Linked DNA regions of Homo sapiens: regions 2, 3 and 4 are each linked to region 1. Evidence: promoter capture Hi-C in human tissues and cell types (Jung and others, 2019). All regions are on one chromosome and are shown on one strand. Each heading gives the region's core, a stretch centred on a gene start or on the middle of the fragment in contact. The rest is flanking DNA. Distances are from core to core; before and after follow the strand shown.

Evidence for each region. Contacts are between HindIII fragments. The study calls those that stand out against the background at their distance.
Region 2: a contact is called between a fragment that was not itself captured here and the fragment with the promoter of SLIT2 in region 1, in 1 of the 25 tissues and cell types used here (mesenchymal stem cells).
Region 3: a contact is called between a fragment that was not itself captured here and the fragment with the promoter of SLIT2 in region 1, in 1 of the 25 tissues and cell types used here (hippocampus).
Region 4: a contact is called between a fragment that was not itself captured here and the fragment with the promoter of SLIT2 in region 1, in 1 of the 25 tissues and cell types used here (dorsolateral prefrontal cortex).

The regions. Positions count from the first base shown.
Region 1 is chr4:20,250,266-20,253,286 of GRCh38, forward strand. SLIT2 (slit guidance ligand 2) reads left to right here and starts at 1,640. Exons shown (of 37, transcript NM_004787.4): 1 at 1,640-3,021. RefSeq lists an enhancer at 2,756-3,021. The HindIII fragment of the contact is 10,378 bases long and covers 1-3,021 here.
Region 2 is chr4:20,009,928-20,012,948 of GRCh38, forward strand. It overlaps LOC105374513 (a long non-coding RNA gene), which reads left to right. Exons shown (of 3, transcript XR_925449.2): 2 at 1,853-1,968. Among named protein-coding and RNA genes, the nearest start is that of SLIT2, 240 kb to the right of the region's middle. The HindIII fragment of the contact is 3,709 bases long and covers 1-3,021 here.
Region 3 is chr4:20,425,363-20,428,383 of GRCh38, forward strand. The region is part of intron 4 of SLIT2 (slit guidance ligand 2); the gene reads left to right. Among named protein-coding and RNA genes, the nearest start is that of SLIT2-IT1, 35 kb to the left of the region's middle. The HindIII fragment of the contact is 7,302 bases long and covers 1-3,021 here.
Region 4 is chr4:20,408,216-20,411,236 of GRCh38, forward strand. The region is part of intron 4 of SLIT2 (slit guidance ligand 2); the gene reads left to right. Among named protein-coding and RNA genes, the nearest start is that of SLIT2-IT1, 18 kb to the left of the region's middle. The HindIII fragment of the contact is 3,848 bases long and covers 1-3,021 here.

The sequences.
Region 1 (3,021 bases), core at 390-2,889:
GGGTTGGGGGAGCTCCTTCCTCAATGACAGGTACTTGTTCTTTATCTCATTTTCCTTACAAGAAAATGTGACAAGGGCTTCTTTTTTCTCCTCCTCAAGGAAGTTACATAACAGACCTTTAAGCTAAAATCTAGAAGGACAAATGAGTTAATAAATGTCAAATGTTTTTGAAGGTTTTAAAAGAATAGAGCAATATAAATCTGTGGCATTAAAATGAGTAATCCTAAGAGTTCCAATTCAGTTATCAGATGGTACCCTGCCTTTGGGCGTGTCCTCGAAAAGGCTTACGTTTTCCAAGGCAGGCAAAATGAGGTAAGTAGGGGTAGCCATTATGAAAGGACATCTTAGAAAATGTTAACCAGGAAAAACGTTAATGAGGATATTGCAGAGATTTTAGGTTGAGCATACTCTTGAGTTAAAGAAATCGGTTACTTATGAGGAAACCTATTATGTGGCAGGCATAGATGCTGGAAATACAAAGAGTTGGACAGGTCTTGCTTTCAAGGAAGCTTCTAATAATTATACAAATAACTACTACAATATGAGGCTGGTATTAGGCGGGGGCTTGCACAAATTCCAGGGAAAGCTTCTTAACGTGGAAATGGGAGGAAGAACAACAATATGATGCATATTAAATCCAAGAGAAGGAGCAGAGTCATTTAGATGTCATTTCAAACTTACAGTGACATTGGCTCTTGCTGGGGGGGAAAGGGGGGCGAGAGAGGCAGCCGTTGCCAGACATACGTCACACTAAAGAGACAAGATGAAACAAGGAAATTCTCTTTCAAAACATAGCGGGGAAAAAAATATCCAGAACTGCCCTGAAATAAAGAAAACCTTCTGGTATAATGTGCGTTGCTAGGGATTTATTTTTTCCCCTCCTTTCTCTCATAAGAGAGTAAAAAATCACACAGATACGTTCAAGCCCTTAAGAGTTTTGTGAGCCTATTGAATATCCAAGACATCAACTGACCACGGTGTGGTTCAGTGTGTGTCTACAAAGGAAGGGTTAAACGGAAGGGGGTGGCTTGGAGATAGAAAGGCAAGCAAGAAGGTTGGAAAATGCTGTTTTCCAACTTGCAAAAACTGAACTTTTCAGCTCCCCAAAATACACGTGTGTGTCTGTAAGCGCAGGCAGATCTATTTCGGTAGGATTTTTCTTAAATTTAAATCATAATTTCTCTGTTTCTGTCTCTCTGTCTCTTGCTGCGCTGCAAAGAGTGAGCAGCCCCCTTAAGGATCGCGTGGCAAAAGCTGCAGGAGAGGCACTGGCAGGGCTGTTTATTTATGAGCCGCGTTCAAAGCCGACCTCTTCCCATTCTCCCACTGCAAACGACTATCTCCGAGCCCAGGTCACCTCTGGGGCCAAGGAGTTGGGGGCTGGGGCTCGGGTGGCTCCTTCTTCGGGCCAAGTTTGCCCGCGCGTGGGAGCGAGGGGGCGAGCCAGGGCGCACGGGAACGCGCGCCGCCAGCCGCCGCCTCCGCCCAGCGCTGGCAGCCCCGGCCTCACCTCTCCCCTCTCCCCAGCGAGGTGCGGGCTCCCAGAGCGGAGCCAGGGGGCGGGCCTGGGCCTCGAGGGGCGGGGTCAGGGGGCGGAGGCTCGGGCGGCTATATAAGGCCCGCGCCGGCTCAACTTCGGACTTGGTGTTATTTATTTGGGAAGCGCCCGGACGGCGGAGCTTGGCGGCGGCGGTGGTGGTGGCTGCCGCAGACTGTGGTTAAAAAAAAGAAGGCGGCGGCGGCGGCGGCGGCGGAGGCGGAGGCAGCTGCGAGGCATGGGAGCGCCGAAGCGCCCAGGCGCAGGCCGAAGCTGCCGCGCTTTCTGGGCACGGCGGGAGTGCTGAGCAGAAAGGGGAGCGCCGGGGGCCCGCAGCCGGCTCCGGAGGCGCGGGCCGGGTTTTTGTTTGGCTACGCTGAGCGCCAGTCAGCCCCAGCGAACAACTCCAGTTACGACAACAACCCACCTTCCTTCCAGACAAGCGAGACTTGGGCTGCTGCGTCCGTCCTATTGTTTAGACACTTGCCAGGGGCTCCGGAGTCGGCAGAGCCACCGAGTCCCCGCTCTGAGTCGTCGCCCTCCCTCTCCCCGACCTCGCTCCCTGGAGCGGGAGGCCAGGAAAGCAGCGGGAGAGGGGAAGGGGCTAGAAGGAGAAGGACTACCCGGGACTGCGGCCGCCGCGTCAGGTGCAGCGCCAGGAGCCGGGCGGCGTCGCCACGCCGGCAGGGGTACCGCCACTGTGGCCTTGGGGGACGGAATTCAAAGCCTGGGAAAAGTTGCTGCACTTTGAGAAGGACGAACCACTAGTGGGAGACCGCCGGGGGCCGGCCGTGGCTCTGCGCCCTCCGGAACCCGGCTCTTGTTTCTTCTACCTTTGCCATCAGGTGTCTGCCGCGGAGCTGCGGCTTATCTGGGAGACGAGCGGGGTTGACACGCGCGCACACACTACTGCCATTCAGCTGCCGCCTGGCTCTGCCTGGAGTAGTGGATCCCACCCGCCCACCTGCCACCGAGCCATTCTCCAGTACGCCCCAGCAGGACGCTGACACCTCCAACCTTGGCCTTTGCCTTTCCACTCCTTCCGGTCTGCCTGGTTTTTAAGTCCGCCCCCAGTCAGTCCCCACTCAGTCTTCGCAGCAGCTCTCATCCTCCACTTGGCCTCTTGGAGTTCCTCGCCGGAGTGCTGACTAGTGGATATTTCTGCCCGGCTGCGGCGGCCCGACTGCCCTTTTGTCTTTTCTGCGTGACCTCGGGGCAGGTCCTGGTGCAGAGCGTCGCCAAGGACGCCGAGCGGGAGGCGGGATTGCCCAGACATCCTTCAGCGAAGTGCATGTGTGTTTGTAAACCATCGTTGGCTGTCGGGAGACCGCGAGGACCGGTCCAGGCTGCGGCGGAGTCGAGGGCGAGGGAGAGGCCGCGTGAGTGAGCAGAGTCCAGAGCCGTGCGCCCCCAGAACTGCGCGTCCGCCCCGTGCACCCCCGCGCGCCATGCCCAGTTGCCCCGCGCGCTCTGCTACGGGCCCG
Region 2 (3,021 bases), core at 212-2,711, 240 kb before region 1:
AAAGTGTCCATAGATGATATGTAAACAAAAGAGCATGGATGTGTACCAATAAAAGATTATTAATGAAGACCAAATAGTGAACTTTATACAATTTTCCTGTGTCATAAGTTATTCTTCTTTTGTTTTATTGTTTTTCAACCATTTCAAACTTTCAAAACAATTTTTGGCTCATAGGGTAGACAAAATGACAGCAGACCATGGTATTCCAATTCCTAATCTAGGGGGTCAAATGATAAACAAGATGAGTCTCTGCTTCAAAACACTCCTGATCTACAATAACAAATGTTTCTTTACTTGGTAAATCCTTTCAAAAAGATATGTAAAGGTAGCACCAAGGGATTTGGTTTACAGAGAAGGCTGCACTGAGAAGGGACTAAATTATCCCAGTAGATGACCAGAAGTCCACCAGGGAGTCCATGTCAGGGGTGGTAGAGAGGCACATATTTTATACACCAAACTATCAATTATATATCATTTGATATTGATACAAATGTATATATGTATGTGTATATATTTTTATTTCTTTCAAAGAAGCAACATCCCAAAATTAGATAGATTAGAAAGCCTTCTTTCAACCACCTTTCTCCACATTTTTGATTGGTTGGTTGTTGTTGGTACTAGTTCTGTCTTGAATCCAGGGTTTGCATATATAACGATACGTTTTTTGGTGTTTTTTTTTTGTTTTGTTTTGTTTTTTGCGGAGAGTCTCGCTCTGTTGCCAGGCTTGAGTGCAGTGGAACGATCTTGGCTCACTGCAACCTCTGCCTCCCAGGTTCAAGCCATCATCCTGCCTCAGTTTCCCAAGTAGCTAGGACTATAGGTGCGCACCACCATGCCCAGTTAAATTTTGTATTTTTAGTAGAAATGGAGTTTCACCATGTTGGCCAGGATGGTCTCGATCTCTTGATTTCGTGATCTGCCCACCTTGGCCTCCCGAAGTGCTGGAATTACAGGAATGAGCCACCATGCATAGTCTTGAGACAAGTAGTTTTTCTGTGCTGGAGGAATGACAGCAAAAACAATCATAAATGCAGCAAGCTTATTTACGAACAAATTGATTTGAGGGAGTTGAAATCAGCAAATATTGGGATGGATTTATGTGAAGGACAAAATTCCTTGAGCTGTTCTTTCCAAATGTACCCAAAGAAGCTCTTTGTAATTTTTAAAGAATAAGCTGCATACATTGTGATGAAGTGAACTTAAGGAAATAAAATGCATTCAGTTTGGGGAAAACGGGTTTTTTTCCCCTTTATTTCCTTGAGTTTTATCTTCCCTATCAAGTTGCTGCCATCCTCAGAGCAGTGGTTTCTGTAACATGTACTGATATAGACAACCCAATATCAGAACTATATTTGCCGTGTAACTTTAATCCTCAACTTTGGCCACAACTATTCACAGTGATTAATACCAACTGAGCTATACAGTTGTCAGTTGTTCTCAAGAGAAGCATCAGTGTCTCTTGTGTGCATCTGTGGAAACCACTGAAATGGATAAAATTGAGGGTTAAGCTACCCTGTACTCTAACCATTTCCTTGTAAGCATCCAGTCTAAGAGTTATTCATCTGACCTCTTCACTAAATAGTACCCTTACACTGTTACCCCAGGAAATGAAATGTACTGTAACAGATCAGGGAACGACTCATGCTGATTAGTGAAACTTTCCAAACAACTAAAAATGTGCATCTTTAAGTGTAGATAGATGATAAACAGATACATACACACATGTGTGTATGTATAGTTATAGATGTACATACATATATATGCATAAGCATATATATGTGTGTATACATATTTCTTGTATGCCATGTATTCTCCTATCATCAATTTCATCTCCTTCTCTTTTGTATTTTAGTTGGTAATTGGTGTTTCTCCGTTACTATACCATCCCACAATGTGTTTGAGGGAAGCAATTATGGCTTGCTCATATCTGGAGACACTACAACACTTTATGCAATGCTTAAGCATGCAGTAAGTATTTGTTGCATTTCAACTCAACTACTAAAAAACTTAATAGTATTACTAAAAACACAATGATTGGTAAAGGGATATTTTAGAAACAATTATGGTATATGGGTCTTGTTTTAGAGAAATTATTCACCAAATATTACAGATAAATGCTCCAAAAATAATTGTATTTATTTTTGCTATTGTCATGCATCTAGTGAAAGATTGAGACTACTAAGTAGTGAAAACAGCCTAAAATATTTTAGTTTATCTCAGAAAATCACATGTAGCAATTATCAGATATTACCCACTCTGGTTTCTCAAGCCTCTGCTCTAGGGGAGGGAGTGTTTCCTTAAATTACTTTAAGAATAATGAATAAATAAACGAATGAAATTTGAAGAGACAAGACAACTCCTCTGTGGAGTGGCACTCACAAGAAAGAAAATCTAATAAAGGTACCTTCAAACTTCAATGTGCATCAAAATCGCCTGTGGGACTTGTTGAAACACAGATTACGAGGCTCCATACTCAGAGTTTTCTGCTTCCATAGGTCTGGGTAGATGCCCAGAAATGTGCATTTTTACTAAGTTCCAAGGTGATGCTGAAGTTGCTGATATGGAACCCTACTTTGAAAAACATAGATCTAATGTCATATTTCATGTATCCATCCTTACTATTTCTCTCACTGATTTAGGTAACTACGTTCTTTTATACATGATAAAATCGACAGTTGGAAATCCAGTTACAACTTCTCTTATCTCATTTGGATAGTGTTTCCATGGAGGATTTCCTTCTTCATATTTACTGGGAAATTTATGATTTTCTAAATCCTGAATCTCATGAAAAATCTTTCAACAAATCTGAGAAAAGTGTTATAAATCCCCTGTGAGAATTGAAGCATAACACGCACCATTGAAATGTGACTAATCTTACAGAAAACACTGACTTGAAAGCCAGGGCAGGGAACACCAACACACAGAGTCAAAGATTGAGGTCAACATTTCTGAGAAGCAGGACAGAACATTTAGAAGAGAAGGTGTCATGATAAATTGATCAGTATGACGTTTCGCTGCTCC
Region 3 (3,021 bases), core at 212-2,711, 170 kb after region 1:
TCAAAAAAATAAATAAATAAACAAATAAAACCATTGTCCATTTCTCCTGAGCTTTCACCAAGTCTTTTTTTCTATAAATACCTTCCAAGTTTCTAATGGCTATTATTTATATGAATGAAATAGTCTCAGAAAAAATAAGTTTATACACGTGTGTGGTGTATATCTACTGTAGAGAACAAGGATCCCGTTTAAAGAAATGTCATATTGATTAGATACAATTTTAACTTGCTGGAAATTACTTTCTAAAAATATTATTTTCCAAATCTTCCTGTCCATAAATCCGTTTGTAAAGGGAAAAGCCACTCTTAATACATAGAAATTCCTTTTAGTGAGTTCAACTTTAAGCCCCTAGGAAATGCTTTAGTCTTTCAAATATCCAAAAAGTTAACAGATTTTATATGAACACTTTACATGAGAAAGTGGTACTTTTGCTGAAAACTTAAAGTAGTAAATGGAGAAAACTCAAGTGTAGCATTATTTCCAGCTGCTGCAGATTCCATGCTTTTTCATATGTCCCTTTCTCTGCCTGCCTCTCCCTCCTATGCCAATCCTTTGTATGACCATGAGTTTTTCAAGACTCTTCTGTGCTATCCCTGACAATTCAGTTTGGGATTTGCTGTCACCTTAGGAGCTTCTCTGTAAACCTGTGATTTTTTTCCTATTAGACTAATGTGTGAATGAGTGTTTTGCTCAGTGCTCCCTTATAGACTGTGAGCTTCTTGAGAACAGGGTTGCTCCTTCTTCACCATTGCATCCTCAGTGTGTAGTGTGGTACCTAACACATGGCAGCTGACTTTGGCTTAACCAACACATGCTTGAATGAAGCAGCTCCAAACCTGGAATGCGGAGGCAGTAGGGAAGGAAAGGATATCACCAGGACTGCTGGCAGATGAGCACAGAGTTGAGTACAACTTTCACTGTGTAGGAGGCAGCATAGAAGGGGAAGATTTATAAATGATGTATACAAAAACAAATTCAAAGCTAGTAAAAGAATGAGTGGAGAGGCTGGGGAATCAGATTCTTTAGAAAATAGGGAGTTTTGTATAAGAAAAGGTGGTAGGGGAAAAACAGTTTTGCAAAATAGTCATATTTCACTAGATTTAGCAGTGTGTTATCCAATCACAGATGACCTGAAAAGATGCACTGTGTAAGATGCTATTAATGAGAAAGGATCTAGAGGTTGACAGGTACGGCCATTTGCATGCTGATGATAACTAAAATTGTAAGGAACACATATTTAGAGTAGCTTTAGGTTTTGGAAATTGATTGAAGAGGGACAGAAAAAGAAGGAGAACCTTAAACCGTAACTTAAGAAATGAGAGCTGGGATCTACAGAGCAGGAAATGATACTTGGCTGAAAAGCTACAGATGCATAATAAAAAGATTACCTGTTATTTGATAATGATGATAAAAAAATACAATGATAAGTAGTGCATATGGGCTGGGCTTATATTCTTTCATTTAAACCCCAAAACAACTGTCTGGGGAAGATTTCATTGTTTTTCCCAGAGAAATAACAGTTACAGAGAGGCAGGTAAATTGCCCAGGGTCTCAGAACTGGTAAATTTAAGAGTTAGGAGTAGAGTCCAGGTAGAGGCACTCCAGGATCTGAATCTTACCTGCCCTCTATAGTCTAAGCTTTAACCAAACACTATGTAACATTTATGGTATAGCTGTCCTGAGCTTAAGAAGTATGTTTATCTCATTTGATCCTTAGAAAATCTGCAAGATAAGCAGACTTCAATCCTCAATTGAAAGGCAAAGACAGGCTTAAAGAAAACAGAGATTTTCCCTGAGAATCCACAGCCTGTAAATGGTTGTGATCCGGCCTGAACCAATAGCTTTTAGTTTTAATAACATCACAGGTTCTGTGAAACCATGCTACTTCCTTAGATGGTGCTCCTTCAGGAAAAGGATATCAATGTTGGTATTTTTATATAAAACATTAAGAGTATGTGTTTCTGTTAATGTACATATACATGTCCTGTAGCCTGTTAGAACCCATTTTTTTCATTTTCAAAGGTCATAGGAAAAATTATATTCTTACACAATAAGTCTGTACATCCACAGAATCAAAGATATTTGGTCAAAAGTTTGTCATTATGGATTCTAAAAGTTGAAAGCATATGGCTGCATTTTAAAAACCTATCTATATGATGTGCTTATGAGTATGGTATTTTGTGTCCAAAGTTAATTAATAACGGCTGCAGGCCAGTGTTCTTGTAGGAGCTCTCATTTTTTCCAACATTGCTGGTGTCTTTGAACAAGTGAAGTGAAGCCATCCAGGGAAAGCTATGAATTTGCATTCTTTTTTTTTTTTTTTTTGAAACCTTTCTAACAATGGCTGATAATCACTACTGTCAATAGTCTTCTAAAAACTTCCCAGTAATGATTAGATACTATGAATAGATTATTGCTTTTTCTCTTCAGGTCTTTTTCCCCCAACTACATATAGAATGTTATTGAAATTCATGTGTCTTAATCAGTTGTTCTCTATGCTTTTTACCATGCCTCTCTTCATTTCTAAGTCTTCTGACCTAAATTACAAACCTGAAGGACTGAGAAGAGAAGAAAACCCATTTTGAGTTCCTACCCTGTGATCCATACTGTGCTAATTACTTCTCACTCATCTCATCCACACTACCACAATGCAAAGTCAGCACGTTCATAATTGTTCACAGCAAAGAGAAAACTGAGGACTAAGTCTCACAGGGAGTAAAAGAAGTAGATTTAAACCCATGTTTGACTCTTAATGTCATGTGTTTGATCTCCGTACTTACAGCTCTTGGATTCAAATTTTAGTATGTGTTTTTAAAGTCCATATTGTAAATGTAACCATGATCAGAAGTAATTACTATTTTGCAGAGCACACACACATGTACACAGAATATCAAACATAAATATACAGAGTAAAAGAAATGCCCGCATGCCTGCCACTCAGGGCGAGATGGAGCCCTGCCATCATGCCACATGAGTCCCCTGGTGCCTTTTCTGTCATACCCGCTCTTGTCTACCTAGGGG
Region 4 (3,021 bases), core at 300-2,799, 160 kb after region 1:
CCATCAGACATCTAGCTCCAAGGACTCATAACCAGATGATAGGAGAAAGAAGCTGAGATTATAATACTGCGATAAAAACATTTATATAAAAATGTAGTTATTCCACCAGAAGAATGTAAACCACAGCCCCTAAGCCCTTGCCAAACCCCTTCTCAGACCTTGACCTTCCATTAATTTGTCTGTTTGAACCCTAGGATTTTGCACATTTTGATTTTTTGTTCTAGGTGAAAGCTTGAGAGTTCCTTGCCTCTACTATGCCCAGATCTCAGCCCAAAGCCATCCCTGATCCCCTTTCCCCTGCAGGACGAAATTTCAGTTTGCTGACTCTGCTGTGCTCAAAGAACCTTCGTTTTTTGTGATTATGTGCTTATTTTTAGTTTATTTTTTTACCTCCTTCTAGCGCTACTGGATTATAAGTTACTTTGGGATCAAGGCCATTTCTATCTCACTCATTGTGGAAACCCAGCTTCTATCGCTCTAATAGTCCTTGAGTAAATGATGAGTGAGCTGCAGTCTGAGAAGCCTAGGGGACAGAATGACTCAGCTGCTTGGAGGAACCAAGAAAAGCTTGGAACAGAACAGAGTTTGCATCGCTGTGGCTCATGGTGTTGCTCTATAATTACTTAAGTGACAGTTTTCTTATACAGACACTTTGTCCTAGACAATATGTAAATGGAAAGAAAGAATACCATCTACTTCTAAATTAACAGCTCCTGGGGCTGCTTCTCCCACCCCCACCTCCCATATGCACTTGTGCTCATATGCATTTGCATGTAATTTCTGTAGTACCACAGATCTGCTAAAGCCCATCAGAGACTGCAGCTCACGAAAGCTGCCATGTTTTTCCTTTTAATTTCCAACTTTTGTTTTAAGTTTGGGGTACCATGTGCAGGATGTGCAGGTTGGTTACATAAATGCCATGGTGGTTTGCTGCAGAGATCATCCCATCATCTAGATATTAAGCCCAGTATCCATTAGCTAGTCTTCCTGATGCTCTCCTTCCTCTCACTTCTCGCCCTACAACAGGCCCCTGTGTGTGTTGTTCCCCACCATGTGTCCATGTGTTCTCCTCATTCAGCTCCCACTTATAAATGAGAACATGCACTATTTAGTTTTCTGTTCCTGTGTTAGTTTGCTGAGGATAATGGCTTCTGGCTCCATCCATGTCCCTAAAAGGACATGATCTCATTCCCTTTTATGACTGCATAGTATTCCATGGTGTATATGTACCACATTTTCTTTATCCAGTTTATCATTGATGGGCATTTAGGTCGATTCCATGTCTTTGTTAGTGTGAATAGGGCTTCAGTGAATATACATGTGCATGTATCTTTATAATAGAATGATTTATATTCCTTTGACTATATACCCAGTCATGGGATTTCTGGGTCAAATGGTATTTCTGCCTCTAGGTTTTTGAGGAATTACCACACTGTGTTCCACAATGGTTGAACTAATTTACATTCCCATCAACAATGTAAAACCATTCCTTTTTCTCCACAACCTCGCCAGCACCTGTGTTTTTTAACTTTTTAATAATAGCTATTCTTACTGGTGTGAGATGATATCTCATTGTGGTTCTAATTTGCATTTCTCTAATGATCAGTGACGTTGGATTTTTTTTCATATGTTTGCTGGCCGCATGTATGTCTTCTTTTGAGAAGTGTCTATTCATGTCCTTTGACCACTTTTTAATGGGGTTGTTTTACTCTTGTAAGTTTTTTTAAGTTATTTGTAGATGCTGGGTATTAGACCTTTGTCAGATAAATGGATTGCAAAAGATTTCTCCCATTGAGTAGGTTGTCTGTTCACTCTGTTGATAGTTTATTTTGCTGTGCAGAAGCTCTTTAGTTGAATTAGATCCCATTTGTCAAGTTTTGCTTTTGTTGCAATTGCTTTTGGCATCTTCGTCATGAAATCTTTGCCTGTGCCTATGTCCCAAATGGTATTGCCTAGATTTTCTATTAGGGTTTTTATAGTTTTGCGTTTCACATTTAAGTCTTGGTTTTTTTTCTTTTCTTTCTTTTCTTTTTTTTTTTTTTTTTTTTTTTGAGACAGAGTCTTGCTCTGTCACCCAGGCTGGAGTGCAGTGGCGCAATCTTGGTTCACTGCAACCTCCGCCTCCCAGGTTCAAGCGATTCTACTGCCTCAGCCTCCCAAGTAGCTGGGATTACAGGTGCCTGCCACCATGCCCAGCTAATTTTTTTTTTTTGTATTGTTAGTAGAGATGGGGTTTCACCATGTTGGCCAGGCTGGTCTCGAACTCCTGACTAGGTGATCCGCCCACCTCGGCCTCTCAAAGTGCTGGGATTACAGGTGTGAGCCACTGCACCTGGCTCACATTTAAGTCTTTAATCCATCTTGAGTTTATTTTTGTATGTGGTGTAAGGAAGGGGTCCAGTTTCAATTTTCTACATGTGGCTAGCCTGCTCTCCCAGTACCATTTATTAAATAGGGAATTCTTTCCCCACTGCTTGTTTTTCTCAGGTTTGTTAAAGATCAGATGGTTGTAGGTGTGCAGTCTTATTTCTGGGTTCTGTATTCTGTTCCCTTGGTCTTGGAGTCTGTTCTTATACCAGTATCATGCTGTTTTGGTTACTATAGCCTTGTATAATTTGAAGCTGGGTAGTGTGATGCCTCCAGCTTTATTCATTTTGCTTAGGATTGTTGTGACTATAGGGCTCTTTTTTTGGTTCCATATGAATTTTAAAGTATTTTTTTCTAATTCTGTAAAGAATGTCAATGGTAGTTTAATAGGAATAGCATTAAATTTATAAATTGCTTTTGGCAGTATGGCCATTTTCATGATATTGATTCTTCCTATCCATGAGCATGGAATGTTTATTTGTTTGTTTGTTTCATCTCTGATTTCTTTGAGCAGTGGTTTGTAGTTCTCTTTGAAGAAGTCCTTCACTTCCCTTGTTAACTGTAGTCCTAGGTATTTTATTCTTTTTGTGAAAAAGCCTGATGTTTTGAAGCACTGGCTTCCTCATTTTTTGTGTGCCCAGACACAGCTTGTCG